Linked DNA regions of Homo sapiens: all the other regions are linked to region 3. The links are contacts of gene promoters, found by promoter capture Hi-C in blood cells and fetal thymus (Javierre and others, 2016). All regions are on one chromosome and are shown on one strand. Each heading gives the region's core, a stretch centred on a gene start or on the middle of the fragment in contact. The rest is flanking DNA. Distances are from core to core; before and after follow the strand shown.

Region 1 (4,347 bases), core at 1,293-3,792, 290 kb after region 3:
GTGGTCAGAGAAAACTCACTGGAGAAAGAAGCTCTGCACTGGGCGGTGAAGGATGGTGGTACTGGCTTGGCAGAGGGAAGGGGAACGGAAGCCGCATAGAGACATAAATCGTGAAGCTACCAAGGGGACCACGAGTGCAGTAGCCAGACCCCAGCAGAAGGGGACGGCTTGAGGTGTGGGTGAAGCAGGGTGCAGTGCATACTTACCCTGTCGTCTGCGCAGCATTCAGCTTCTGGGAACCATGTGTGGCTGCCTCTGGCTCCTTTATCTCCAGGGCTTCTCGGAAGCCATTTGTACAGACGTTTTCAGGCCTCTCCTGCCCACTGCTCAGGGTGTGGGTGCTGAGGGTGGGATTTGGGATTTGGCCAGGAGGAAGCATCTGCCACCACCGGCATCCCTTTTGCTTTCTTTTTCCTCTTATGAGTACTCAGGGCTGCCTCCTAGCTTTGCCTAATTGCTCTATCCACGGACCAATGAGAGCGGGTGACGTTTTAAAGTGACAATCCTACATTGATAGTATTTTCTAGAAAATTCTCCACACACCCGTGGACTAATCTTCCAGAGATCATTTAATTTAATTTATTTATTTAGAGACAGGGTCTTGTTCTGTCGCCCAGGCTGGAGTGCAGTGGTGTGATCTCTGCTTACTGCAGCATCAAATTCTCGGGCCCAAGCGATTCTCCCACCTCAGTCCCCCAAGTCGCTGGGACCACAGGCCTGCCCCTGGCGAATTGTTACGTATTTTTTTGTGGGATGGTGTCTCACTATGTTGCTCAGGCTGGTCTCAAACTCCTGGGGTCAAGTGACCTCCCACCTTGACCTCCCAAATTGCGGGGCTGATAGGTGTGACCCACTGTGCAAGGCCGGGCGCAGTGGCTCACGCCCGTAATCGCAGCACTTTGGGAGGCCGAGGCCGAGGCCGGCGGATCACCTGAGGTCGGGAGTTCGAGACCAGCCTGACCAACATGGTGAAACCCTGTCTCTACTAAAATACAAAAAATTAGCTTGGCATGGTGGTGTGCGCCTGTAGTCCCAGCTACTAGGGAGGCTGAGGCAGGAGAATCGCTTGAACCCGGGAGGCAGAGGTTGCAGTGAGCTGACATTGCCCCACTGCACTCCAGCCTGGCCACAGAACAAGACTCCGTTTCAAAAAAAAAAAAAAAATCAAATTTATAACCTGTATGAGTTTAATCAATATTATTAACAATAACTAATATTGTTATGTTTGTTAGGAAAACTGGGGCTGGTATGGTGGTGCACACCTATAATCCCAGCACTTTGGGAGGCTGAGGTGGGCAGATCACTTGAGGCCAGGGGTTCGAGACCAGCCTGGGCAACATGGCAAAACCCCATCTCTACAAAAAATACAAAAATTAGCTGAGTGTGGGGGCATGTGCCTGTAGTCCCAGCTACTTGGGAGGCTGAGGTGGGAGAATCACTTGAGCCTGGCAGGTTAAGGCTGCAGTGAGCTGCAGTCATGCCACTGCACTCCAGCCTAGGTAATAGGACAAGACCCTGTTTCAAAAAAAATAAATAAATAAAATAAAAAAAAATAAAAGAAAAAGAAAACTAGGAGGCCAGGCATGGTGCTATGGATGTTCACAAAGGGGGTCCTAATGCATGTGTTCTGAACAAACATGTATATTACATACAAGCCATGTTCACCTTGTGGTGGAGACAACAATGAAGTGTATCACAATCAAGCTCTATACGTCAAAAGGTGAAGCAGGGACACCAAGGCACTCAGTGTACAGCCTCTGTAATCCAGCCAGAACCAGTCTATAGTCAGTGGTCTCTTATCAGGAGAAAGTTACTGAAATAAGGCTCTTGTCCAATCAAAGCTGTAGTTATGGCTGTGGAACAGGGGTTGGGGGTTAGTCAGGCAGTGTCTGGTGGCTGGTGAGCTGCAGTTGTTTCAATATTGCTTATCTCAGGGCCACTGCTTGTTTGGCTGCCAGAGAAAAATAAAAACCCTGTAGCCCTTAGGACATAGTATACTCTTTAAGTGTAGGGGTGCATGACTTAACCCTTGCCTAGCATAGCCTTAGGTTCTGTTTCCAATTCGGTATCTTACTGCCACAAAGCGTCTGTTATGTCAGCCTTACGATCTCTGTTTTAATATTAATGCTTGTCAGTGGTTGTGTCTAAACCGTAAAAGAAAGGGGTTATACGTGTTTGACGTCCTATCCCATCATGGCCAGGAACTCAGTTTTTAAGGTTTCTCTGGGATCCCCTTGGCCAAGAGGGGGTCAGTTCAGTCAGTTGGCAGGGGCGGGGGCTGTTAGGATTTTATTTTTAGTTCTTATTGGTTTTATGTTGACATATTTTGGATATATTGAATTAAATATAACACACAGTCAGCCCTCCCTGTCCATGGATTCAGCATCCATGAATTAACCAACCTAGGATCAAAAATATTCAAGAAAAAAATTAAAAATAAAACAAATAAAAAAGCAATACAGTATAACAACTATCTATAGAGCCTTTACATTGCATTAGATATTATAAGTAATCTAGAGATGATTTAAAATATACAACAGGATGTGCATGGGTTCTATGCAATTACTATACCATTTTATATAAGGGGCTTGAGCTTTCATGGATATTGGTATTTGAGGGGGTCCTGGAACCCGATATATCAAAGTCGCCTCCCCCGATACGTCAAGGAGCAACTGTATTATTAAAATGAATTTGAGTTCTTTTAAAAAATGTGATTATAAAACATTTAAAATTACACATGGAGCTCACATTCTGGTTCTGCTGGGGAGGGCTGCTCTGGATTAAAGTTGTTCTTGGCTTATTTATTTGGTTTTCCATGCACTTTTCAACTCTGATTCTATGCCTGTGATCTGGATCTTCTCTTGAGATGCGGATTCACATCCGCCATTCTGTCTCCTCATCTTCTGAGAGGTCTGCCCTGGAGCCCTCTGCTGAGCTCTCCTCAGGACCGGCTGCTGGTCATCCTGAGATCCCTCTTCACTAATGTCCTGGGAATTTCCTTTATTGTTCTACTGTGTTGAAGCCTGTTTCCTGGATCTCATTTCTTCCTCCTTGGTTAATTCCTTTGTTTTATGAAACATGTTCTGCAGTTTCCTAAGAAAAGCGTGTGGGAGGTTAATTTTTTGCAACCTTATGTGTCTGAAAATTTGTGTGAAAATCACGTGCCCTTGATGCACAGTTTGGGTAGGTGAGTCCAGGATGCAAATAATTTCTCTGAATTTGGAAGGCATTGCACCCATGTCTTCTATCTCCCTGTATTGCTGTTGAGAAGTTCTAAGTCATTTGACTTCTTAACCTCTGTACATGACCTTTCCTTTGAAATCTCCATTCCCTCTTGCAGAATCTTCTTTTTCTCACCAATGCTGTGAACTTTCATGATGATGTGACTTGGTATATGTCATGCCATTCAATTCTGGGAAATTTCCTTGAATTATTTTATTGGTGATTTCATCCCCTCTATTTCTTTAGTTCTCTCTCTTTGGAACTCTATTATTTGGATGAAACAGATAATTGTTAGTCTGCACTGGTCTTCTAATTTTTTTATCTTTTCTCTTTTATTTTCCATCTCAGTCCTTTGCTCCTCTTTCTAAAACGTTTCCTCAACTTATCTTCCATCTCTTCAGCTGAGTTATTTATTTATATTATTATATTTTAAATGTCTAACAATCTAGCAACTTTTTTTTTTTGTTCTTTGATGACTTTTCCTTTTTTTTTTTTTTTTTTTTTTGAGACAGAGTCTGACTCTGTCACCCATGCTGGAGTGCAGGTGGCACAATCACAGCTCACTGCAACCTCGACCTCCTTAGCTCAGGTGATCCTCCCACCTCAGCCTTGCGAGTAGCTGGGACTACATGCGCCCACCACCACACCCAGCTAATTTTTCTGTATTTTTTGTAGCGATAGGGTTTCGCCATGTTGCCCAGGCTGGCCTGGAGCTCCTGGGCTCAAGCCATCCTCCTGCCTTGGCCTTCCGAAGTGCTGGGATTACAGATGAGAGCCACTGTGCCCGGCCTACTTTTCCTTTTTAATAGCATCCTGCTCTTCTTTGTTTTGTGGGTGCAGTATCTTCCACATCTTTGTCCCCAAGGACAGTAATGCTCACTTTGATTTTAACTTTTCTCTTGCCTGCATAGTGTCTGTTTCTTCCAAATCCCCTTTTTTTCTGTGTATTTGGTCTCTCTCTTTCATGATAAAGGCTTCCAGAGGTGCAGAGTAAACCTGGGTTGTTTACACATGTTTATTGGCATGGGGGTTGCCTGCCTATAGCTGGGGTCCTGTGAAAATGAGCCTCTCAGCAGGGTGGCTGTGAGGAATCCCTGAGTGAGTTGCTTTAGGTCTTCTAGAGCT
Region 2 (4,333 bases), core at 8-2,507, 310 kb after region 3:
ATCAGGCACTGAGCACAGTTCCTGACACTTCATTCATGCCCAGTAACAATGGTCATCATTATCATGATAAGCATGGAGGAAAGAGGATGTAATAAAAGTGCCAATGAGAGCCAGTGTGGTGGCTCGAGCCTGTAGTCCCAGCTACTCAGAGGCTGAGGCAGGAGGATTGCTTGAGCCAGGAGTTCAAGACTACAGTGAACCATGATCATGCCCTCCAGCCTGGTGATAGAGCAAGACCAAATCTCTTAAAAAAACTTAACAAATAATAAAAGTGCTAGTGAGAGATGAAGGTAGTCTGAAATGGGGTGGGGAGTGAGCCAGGAATCTGAGAGACATCTGGGAAGGTAGGATTTGCAGGGCTGGTGAATGGCAGATGTGAGGGAGAGGAGAGCCAAGAATGACTTCTGATTCCTGTTTGAGTGTGTGGCTGTCCCCTCACTGAGATGGATGCAGAGTGAGCAGAGAATGTTCACTAAGAGAAAGACCATCCAACACCAAAACCCAACTCCATTCTTGAACTGGAGAGCTTTTCAAAAAAGGACCCTGTAGAGACTGGGGGGTGCAGAGACATCTCCATGCGAGTGGTTGGGGGAGAAGTTAGTAGCAACCCAGATGACCTCTCCTCAATGCTGAGAAGAGGAGGTGCAGGTAGTCTTCCCAGTCTTCCCACCTGCCAGATACTGGTGCCTGGGACAGCTTCTCTCCAGCTCCCAGACAACCTGTAAGAATCAAGCTGCTCCCGTGGGCCCGGGTTCCTCATTAGGACATATGACCTGTGATGCCGGTGACCTTTGATATTCCCTGCACACCAGAACCAGAGTCATTCTATGTAAAACAGCTGCTGAAAAAAAAAAGAGTTATGAATTCTACTTCTTAATGTGCTAGCCAGAGCAATAAAATTTATTCTCAATACTAATTCTGTAATTTAAATTTATTATCTTTGTGCTTTACAGTATCCATAGCAGTAAAATCTATTCCCAAGAGTATGATTACAATTTCCAACTACTTAAGAAGGAATTTTTTTTTGTTTATGTTTTAAAGCCACAGCAATAAAATTTAACACCAACAATACTACTACAACTTTGTATGCCTTAAAACTTGCCATAAATGATAATTGTGAAAAGAATGTAGGGAAACATGTAAATGTTTTTTCCAGGAGAAAGTAGCTTTTTTGGTTTGTCTTATAGAGGTTCAGATTCTTTTTTGCAACAGAGTCTTGCTCTGTCATCCAGGCTGGAGTGCAGTGGCATGATCAAAGTTCACCACAGCCTTGATCTCCCAGCCTCAAATGATCCTCCTGCTTCAGCCTCCCAAGTAGGTGAGACTACAGGTGTGGGCCACCATGCCAGCTAATTACAAACAATTTTTTTTTAGTAGAGATGGGGGTCTCCCTATGTTGCCCAGGCTGGCCTTGCCTGAGCTCAAATGATCCTCCTGCTTTGGCCTCCCAAAGTGTTGGGATTACAGGCGTGAGCCACTGCCCTAGCCCCAGATTCTTTTTTTTTGTTTTCTTTTGTTTTGAGATGGAATTTTGCTCTTGTTGCCCAGGCTGGAGTGCAATGGCGTGATCTCGGCTCACTGCAATCTCCACCTCCCGGGTTCAAGCGATTCTCCTGCCTCAGCCTCCCAAGTAGCTGGGATTGCAGGCATGTGCCACCATGCCCAGCTAATTTTTTATATTTAGTAGAGATGGAGTTTCACCATGTTAGTCAGGCTGGTCTTGAATTCCTGACAGGCGATCCACCCACCTCGGCCTCCCAAAGTGCAGATTCTTAACAGAGCATTGGAAACACACTCCTTTCCACTTAGTCCACAAGTGTTGTTGATTCCACCTCCTAAACATTTCTTGAATTGGCCCATTTCTTTGTCTACGTGACCCCTGAAGCTATGTGCTATTGCTCTAGTCTGGGGGCTACTATCTTGTGCCAGGGCAAGTAATGTGGGCGTTTCAATGTCCACTATCCCACTGTATAATCAAATCTCCACAAAGCGGCTAAGAAAAAATTTTCAAAACAAATCTTGCCAGTTTTCAGGAAAACCTGGGCAATAGAAAACAAGTTATATGATACTGCAAGAAAGCAGTCAACTAAGTGCAGAATGTGGACAGTGTTCAGGACAGATGACTTGGTTTCTCTACTAAATCTATGGCATAAAAGAGGCAGAGGAGGCTGGGTGCGGTGACTCATGCCTGTAATACCAGCACTTTGGGAGGCCGAGGCGGGCGGATCATGAGGTCAGGAGATCGAGACCATCCTGGCTAACACGGTGAAACCCCATCTTTACTAAAAATACAAAAAATTAGCCTGGTGTGTTGGCAGGCACCTGTAGTCCCAGCTACTATGGAGGCTGAGGCAGGAGAATCGCTTGAACCCAGGAGGTGGAGGTTGCAGTGAGCCGAGATCGCGTCACTGCTCTCCAGCCTGGGTGACAGAGCAAGACTCCATCTCCAAAAAAAAAAAAAAAAAAAAAAAAAAAGCAGGAGGAGGAAACGATGGAATGAGAGAGAACTAAGAACTATGAACACAATGTTCAGGTATCATCGGTGGATTTGTGTGGCTCCTGCTAATTCCAACAAGCTAACTGTGTAAAGACAGTTTTGCCAAAATCAGGGAGGTCTGATTATGGTCTGGACAATAGATGCTGCTAAAGAACTGCTGTTAATTTTGATGGCACACGTTTATGTTATTAAAACAAAGCCTTTATCCATTAGAGGTGCTCGTTTGGGTATTTACAGATAAAATGACATGATGTCTTGCATTTGTACTAAAATACCTCAGCCTCTTCTTCCCCAGGGTGGATGGGTGGTGGGGATGGGCAAGGATCAAGATCACCAAAATGTGGAAATTTGTTGAAGCTGGGATGAGTACCCAGGAGTCTATTATGTCTACTCTGGTGAATGTTGGAAAAGTGGCAAAATTAAAAGTAAAAAATTTGAGAGAATAGGATAGATGAACCATTTGTTCTTTTTAATAGTAACTGATGTTTTCAACAAAGATGCTTATTCATCACCTATATTAATTAACAGGGTTTTTTTTGTTTTTTTTTTTTTGAGACAGAGTCTCATTCTATCACCCAGACTGGAGTGCAGTGGCATAATCTTGGCTCACTGCAAGCTCCGCCTCCTGGTTTCAAGCGATTCTCCTGTCTCAGCCTCCCGAATAGCTGGGATTACAGGCACCCACCACCACGCTTGGCTAATTTATTTTTGCATTTTAGCAGAGACGGGTTTTCACCATGTTGGCCAGGCTGGTCTTGAACTCCTGACCTCAAGTGATCCACCTGCCTTGGCCTCCAAAGTGCTGAGATTACAGGCATGAGCCAACGTGCCCAACTAATTAACAGATTTTTTTACTGAATACCTATCTTATGCAAAATTGAGTAAGATGCAGCTTTTGTTTCCCAGAAGCTTACCATCTGGTAGGAAAGGAAAGACCTACATTGGTGAAAAGCTAAGTAATATTAATAATAACAATAATAATACTACTACAAGACATAAGTCAACAACATGCAAAATAGTCAAGAGCTAGCACAAAAAAAAATTGAAGTTACAGAACACTGTGCATGGTATGCTACTTTTTGTATAGGTAAAGAGGAAAAAAAATCTCTAGTCTTGTTTGCTCTAGTCATATGTGTATAGGCAGAAAGGGCACATGTAAAACTGAAAAATTGTTATCTATTTAGGAGAGAGGAGAACCAAGCCAGAAAATACTTTGTACTGAATAGCTTTTATACTTTCTGGTTTTGGAAAACATGTGAATGTGTTGCATATTCACAAATTTAAAGTGAAAAATACTCTCATCTCCTTCCTCACAGCAGATCCTTATCAGATCCAGATCCTATTACCCTTGGTATATAATCAGAAGTCCTTTTCCTGGCTTTTCAGGACGGCCACAGTCTGCTTCTGTGTCCTCTTGTCTCGTGCCTGTCAGCCCTTGAGCTCTGAGCTCCCCAATGCTGGACTCTGAGACTCTGAGCTCTGCCATGCTCCCTCTAATGTGGAATTCAACAAACCAGGACCTCTGCTTGGCTTGTTCTCTTTCACCCTTTGGCCTGATCAAGCCCCACTCTTTTTTTTTTTTTTTTTTTTGATATGGAGTCTTGTTCCGTTGCCCAGGCTGGAGTGCAGTGGCATGATCTGGGCTCACTGTAACCTCCATCTCCCGGGTTCAAGAGATTCTTTTGCCTCAGCCACCTGAGGAGTTGGGATTATAGGAGTGTGTCACTGCACCCAGCTAATTTTTGTATTTTTAAGTAGAGACGGGGTTTCACCATGTTGGCCGGGCTGGTCTTGAACTCCTGATCTCAAGTGATCCACCCGCCTTGGCCTCCCAAG
Region 3 (4,470 bases), core at 1,431-3,930:
CCTTAGTACCTTTCCACTGTCCTCTGGCTACACGGAACTCAGGTCTGTCCTATTCCTCCAGGGCTCAGACTCCAAAATTAACATTCTCCCTTATCACCAGATCAAAACTACCAATCCACTAGATTGTAAACTCCATGAGGGCAGGACGTTTTGTCTGTTTTGTTCACTACTATATCTCCAGTACCTAGAACCAATCCTGGAAACTCTTAGGCACTCGAAGTTGAATGAATGGCTAAGTCTCTAAATTTGTTACTCTGGCTAGCTGTTGGGAGGAAAGCAACCCATTGAACCAATTTACACTCATCTGTGAAAGACCAGTAGCCCCTTATCTCACCCTAAGGTATTTGCATACTTAAAGAGAAAGCTTGTGAATTCAAATTACTCTCATTGGGAAAACTTCAATAGTGAAGCAAATGGAGAAAAAACATTTCAGGCTAAAGGGGAGTGTTGGGGGATGGTGGTGGTGTGGTGAGAGCTATGACTCAGGTAGGCCAGATCTGCCTAGGAGTTTGCCCCTGAGGGCCTCTACTTTTTAAGGCCCCTTACGTTCCACACCACCACAACATCTAAAAGCTTAGAGACTTCTTCATGATGGCTCAGGGCAGTGATCAGGATAAGGAGACTATAAGTCAGAGGACTTATATTCTGTAGGACTGTTTTTACATTGGGTACTGGTATATATCAAAAGGAAGTTTCCTAGCTTTCGAGTTAAATGTACAAGAGCACAGGGAATCTCCTCATAGTCATATTTGTTGATAACAAGTTAATTGCAATATTGTAATTTCACTATATGTAGATGTCATTTTTTTTCTCCTGTGAATTGCCTTGAAATAGATGCACATCTGATATCGAGCTGTGGCACACTGTAAAAGATAAGACATAATTTTTTATGGCACATTATTTTAAAAATGTGTTCTAATATAGTCAGGTACTAGCGATTTTTTTTCTAGACATTGTGTCCTGTTTTTGACCCCCCCGCCCCACACACCCCTAAAGCACCTTTCATATACTTTCATTGGGAAATATAAACTTAATGGAAACAGTAGCCTAACCTCAGAGTTGTGATTCTTGGTTTGTGATACCGGGTTTAAAACAGATGGAAGTTGATTTTAGTGGTTTCAACTTTTTAAATGCCAGAATTCTTTCTGTACTGTCTTCTATGTTCTTTTTGATGATCTGTAAGCTCCTTAAACATTAAAACATTTATTTCTTTTAGAACAAAACTCAAATACATGATGAAAGCAAGCTAAAAGCAGTGCATTTAACAAACCACAATATAATGTGATATATTTATAGAATTATTACTAAAATCAGAAAATCAATGTCTTAGTGATTAAGTCTAGGATAATCAAACTTATTGAATAGTTGCAGTAGTTACTTAATGAGATAGTTTTGATTAATCTTTTGTCCAAATAACAATATTGTGATTACAGGCTTAGCACTACAGGTAGTGTAACCATCAGTGAGTGAGATTAGTACATTTTACATAGTTTTGCTATTTTCTCAGTTTATTTTGGAGTCCAGTAATAACCAGTCAGTCTGTACCTGCCATAGGGCAATCTTTGGTTGATATGAGTTCCTTTCCTGATTTTAAAATAAGTGCAATCTTTAACCTAATAAAATTATCTTAAAGTTTACAATTGATGGTTTAAACACATTATAATTGCTCCGTATTTTGCAGATAGAAGAGGCTTAATCCATGTTTGTAGATCTATTTCCTAAAATAAAAATTAGTAAAAAAAAGTTTTTTTTCTTCAGGTTTAACATTCATTTTGTACCGGGAAGAGAAATGGAATAAGAGGCTCGGATTTTTAAGACTATGCAATCAGATACAAGTGCCATTTTGGCCAAAGAATGAGTAAAACATTCTAGTCCCGACACGTTTAATAATGGGCATACATCCTATTTCTTTGTTTCATAATCATTGAGCTCTCTGCCTTCTCTCTCTTTTTTGGTATGGTAACAAATTCGACAAAATCAATGCCATCTAGTTAAACTTTTTGATTAAGTAGTGGATCCGGTGTCCTATCCACGAAGAGGTGGGAAAAGCGATGTGGAGAAGCAGGCACGAACCCATCTGGAATGGAACATGTCCCTTCCGAATAATTTCATGTGGGAAAATAATTTCAAGTTGAAGGATAATTACTGCAGAGACTGCCAGTCACCCCCGGCCGCCGCCGGCCGCGCAGCGTCGGAAACCCTTCGCGGCAGCCAGGAGGGTCGCAGCCCTCCCGGAGCCCCGCTTCCTGCCCCGGGGCGGCGCACCCGGCTCCGGGAAGGTGCCGCGCGGGAGACGTGGCAGCAGCCCCTCCAGTCCGCGCCCGGGCGCAGCGGCCGAGCGCTCCGTGCAGCCGGGCAAGGAAGACTCCGCGGCAGCAGCGCACCGGCCGGCGGGGAGACCCGCCTGAAGCGCCGGCGCCCGCCAGGGGACGGGAAGTGGCGCCCGGCCCGCCCTTGCGGCCCGCGGCCCGCGGCCCAGCAGCTCCGCGCCGCCCCTTTTCTCTCGGCCTCTCCCTCGGCCTCCGCCACCCCGGCCGAATTCTTGCATAAATTATGCCAGGCGCGCCTGACGTCAGGTGGCGGCGCGCGGGCGCGGGCGCGGGCGCGGCGCGGCCCGGAGGGAGCTGGCGGCGGGCGCGCGCGGCCCCGCGGCTTCGGGTGCGCGCGGCGTGCCGGACGCGCGCAGGCGCTGGCGTGCTGGGGCCGCGGCGGCGGCGGCGGCGGCGGCGGCAGCGGCGGCGGCGGCGGCGGCGCGGGGGTTGAGTCGTGGTGGTGCGGACGCGCTCGTGCTCGGGAACTATCGGATTAAACTTGAATCGAGTGAAATTACACAAAGGAGCGCCGCGGAGGAGGCGGCCCGGGGACCCGGACACCCTGAAACTCACCAGAGACCCGTTCGCCCCCGGCCAACTCCGTGCCCGTGGATTCAGCCCCCTGGCCGCAGCTGCCGAGCCAACTCCGGAGCCCGCTCTGCGTTTTGTTTTCCCCTCGGCACTAGGCAGCGGAGGAGCCCGACCGACCCGGTGAGCGCGAGAGTTCGCCCGGCGCCCCCGGGAGGGGCGGCGGCGGCGGCGGCGGCAGGAAATCGCTCCGGGCCGGGGCCGGGGCCGCGCTAGGAGTTGGGAGCGAGGAGTTGGGCGTGTGCGGGGCGAGGGGCGAGGGGCGAGGGCGGGAGGGGGCCGGGGCCAGCGCAGGAGCGCAGCGCCGCCCGCGTAGTGTCGCCGGCGTCGCCGCCCGCGGGGCCCGAACCCGCGCCCCGAGCGCCGCCCGGCGCCCCAACTTTTGCCTGCGTCCGCCGGGCCGGCGGCGGCGGGGGCGCGCGGTGCGGCCGAGGGTCACTTCCTCGCATGTAAATGGCTTTTTGTTGTGCTGCCGGCGTGGGGGGGGGGTACGGGGGACAGGAGGGAGCGTGTCTGCGCGCGGGGGAGCGCGAGCGCGTTTCCTCCCGCCGGCGCCGAGCACGAGTTGCCGGCTCCATTCGAGAGAAAAAGGAAGGAGGAAAAGTTGGGCTCCAACTCAAGTGCGAGCGGGCGATGGGCGCGCGGGCGCGGGGCGGCTGAGCAGCGGCGGCGGCGGCTCGGGGACGGCGGCGACCCCCGCCTCCCGCCCCCGCCCCCCGCTCCGGACCGACCACGCCGCGCTCGCCGGGAGCTGCGGCCGCACCGGCGCGAACAAAGTGCGTTCCTCCCGGCGCGGCGGCGCCAGCCCGCGCGGGGACCGCCACCGAGCGAGGTGGGTCGGCGGCGGGGAAAGTGCGCGGGGCGCCGCGTGGGGCGGGGGCAGCGCGAACACGCGGCGCGGGAGGCGTCCCGAGCTCAGCCAGTGCCGGTCGCGGGCGCGGAGTTGCGAGCCCGGAGTTGGGGGCTCCTGGGGCTCCCCGGCGGCTCCCAAGTGCGCTAGGAGGAGAAGAAAGGGAGCGGGGCCGGGGCGAGCGCCGGGAGGCGCGGCGAGGAGGGGACCCCACCTTGTCGAGCTGGCCGGGCCGCCGGCGGCGGCAGCTGCATAATAGCGACTTTAACCTTCCAACGCAACTCGGCTCCCCCGCCCCCCAACCCGCCGGGGGTCAGCGCCGGTGGGGGGTGGTCACCAGGTGGCCCCCGAGGTGACCCGGGTGCGCTCTGCCCTCGCAGAGAGCCGCGGCTTGGAGCGTGAACGGCCGAGGTGGCTGGAGGCCAAGCGGTCAGCGGGGAGAGGAAAGGAGGGCGGTGGGGGACGCGTTGTTTGTTTGGTTCGCACCGGGGATTGGGCTCGCTGGGGGCGCGGGGCTCGGGCGGGGGCGCGGGCACCGGCTGGGCTGCGGTGCGGGGCGGGCGCGGCGGCGCGGGGCTGTCGAGGTCGCGGGGGGGGGGGGCGGGGGCGGCGGCGGCGGCGGCTCCCGGGCGGGGGTGGGGGCGCTGGTCGGGAGGCTCTGGGGAAGGAGCCGCCGGCCCCGAGCAGCCATCATTACCGAGCCGCCTTTCTCCGGATGGC

Evidence for each region. Contacts are between HindIII fragments. The CHiCAGO score rates a contact against its expected background, and 5 or more counts as called.
Region 1: a fragment that was not itself captured here is called in contact with the fragment with the promoter of CHD7 in region 3 in 10 of 17 cell types (naive CD8 T cells, neutrophils, naive CD4 T cells and 7 more); the score reaches 15.2 in naive CD8 T cells.
Region 2: a contact is called between a fragment that was not itself captured here and the fragment with the promoter of CHD7 in region 3, in 12 of 17 cell types (naive CD8 T cells, activated CD4 T cells, non-activated CD4 T cells and 9 more). The highest score is 23.0, in naive CD8 T cells.

Annotation. Positions count from the first base shown.
Region 1 is chr8:60,967,367-60,971,713 of GRCh38, forward strand. LOC100130298 (hCG1816373-like) reads right to left here and starts at 382. Exons shown (of 2, transcript NR_034003.1): 1 at 207-382. It also overlaps a transcript of CLVS1 not described here. RefSeq lists an enhancer at 14-73. The HindIII fragment of the contact is 7,322 bases long and covers 1-4,347 here.
Region 2 is chr8:60,987,678-60,992,010 of GRCh38, forward strand. It overlaps a transcript of CLVS1 not described here. Among named protein-coding and RNA genes, the nearest start is that of CLVS1, 300 kb to the right of the region's middle. The HindIII fragment of the contact is 4,294 bases long and covers 1-3,404 here.
Region 3 is chr8:60,676,060-60,680,529 of GRCh38, forward strand. CHD7 (chromodomain helicase DNA binding protein 7) reads left to right here and starts at 2,681. Exons shown (of 38, transcript NM_017780.4): 1 at 2,681-3,023. RefSeq lists silencers at 2,229-2,668, 3,029-3,128, 3,789-4,158. The HindIII fragment of the contact is 9,178 bases long and covers 572-4,470 here.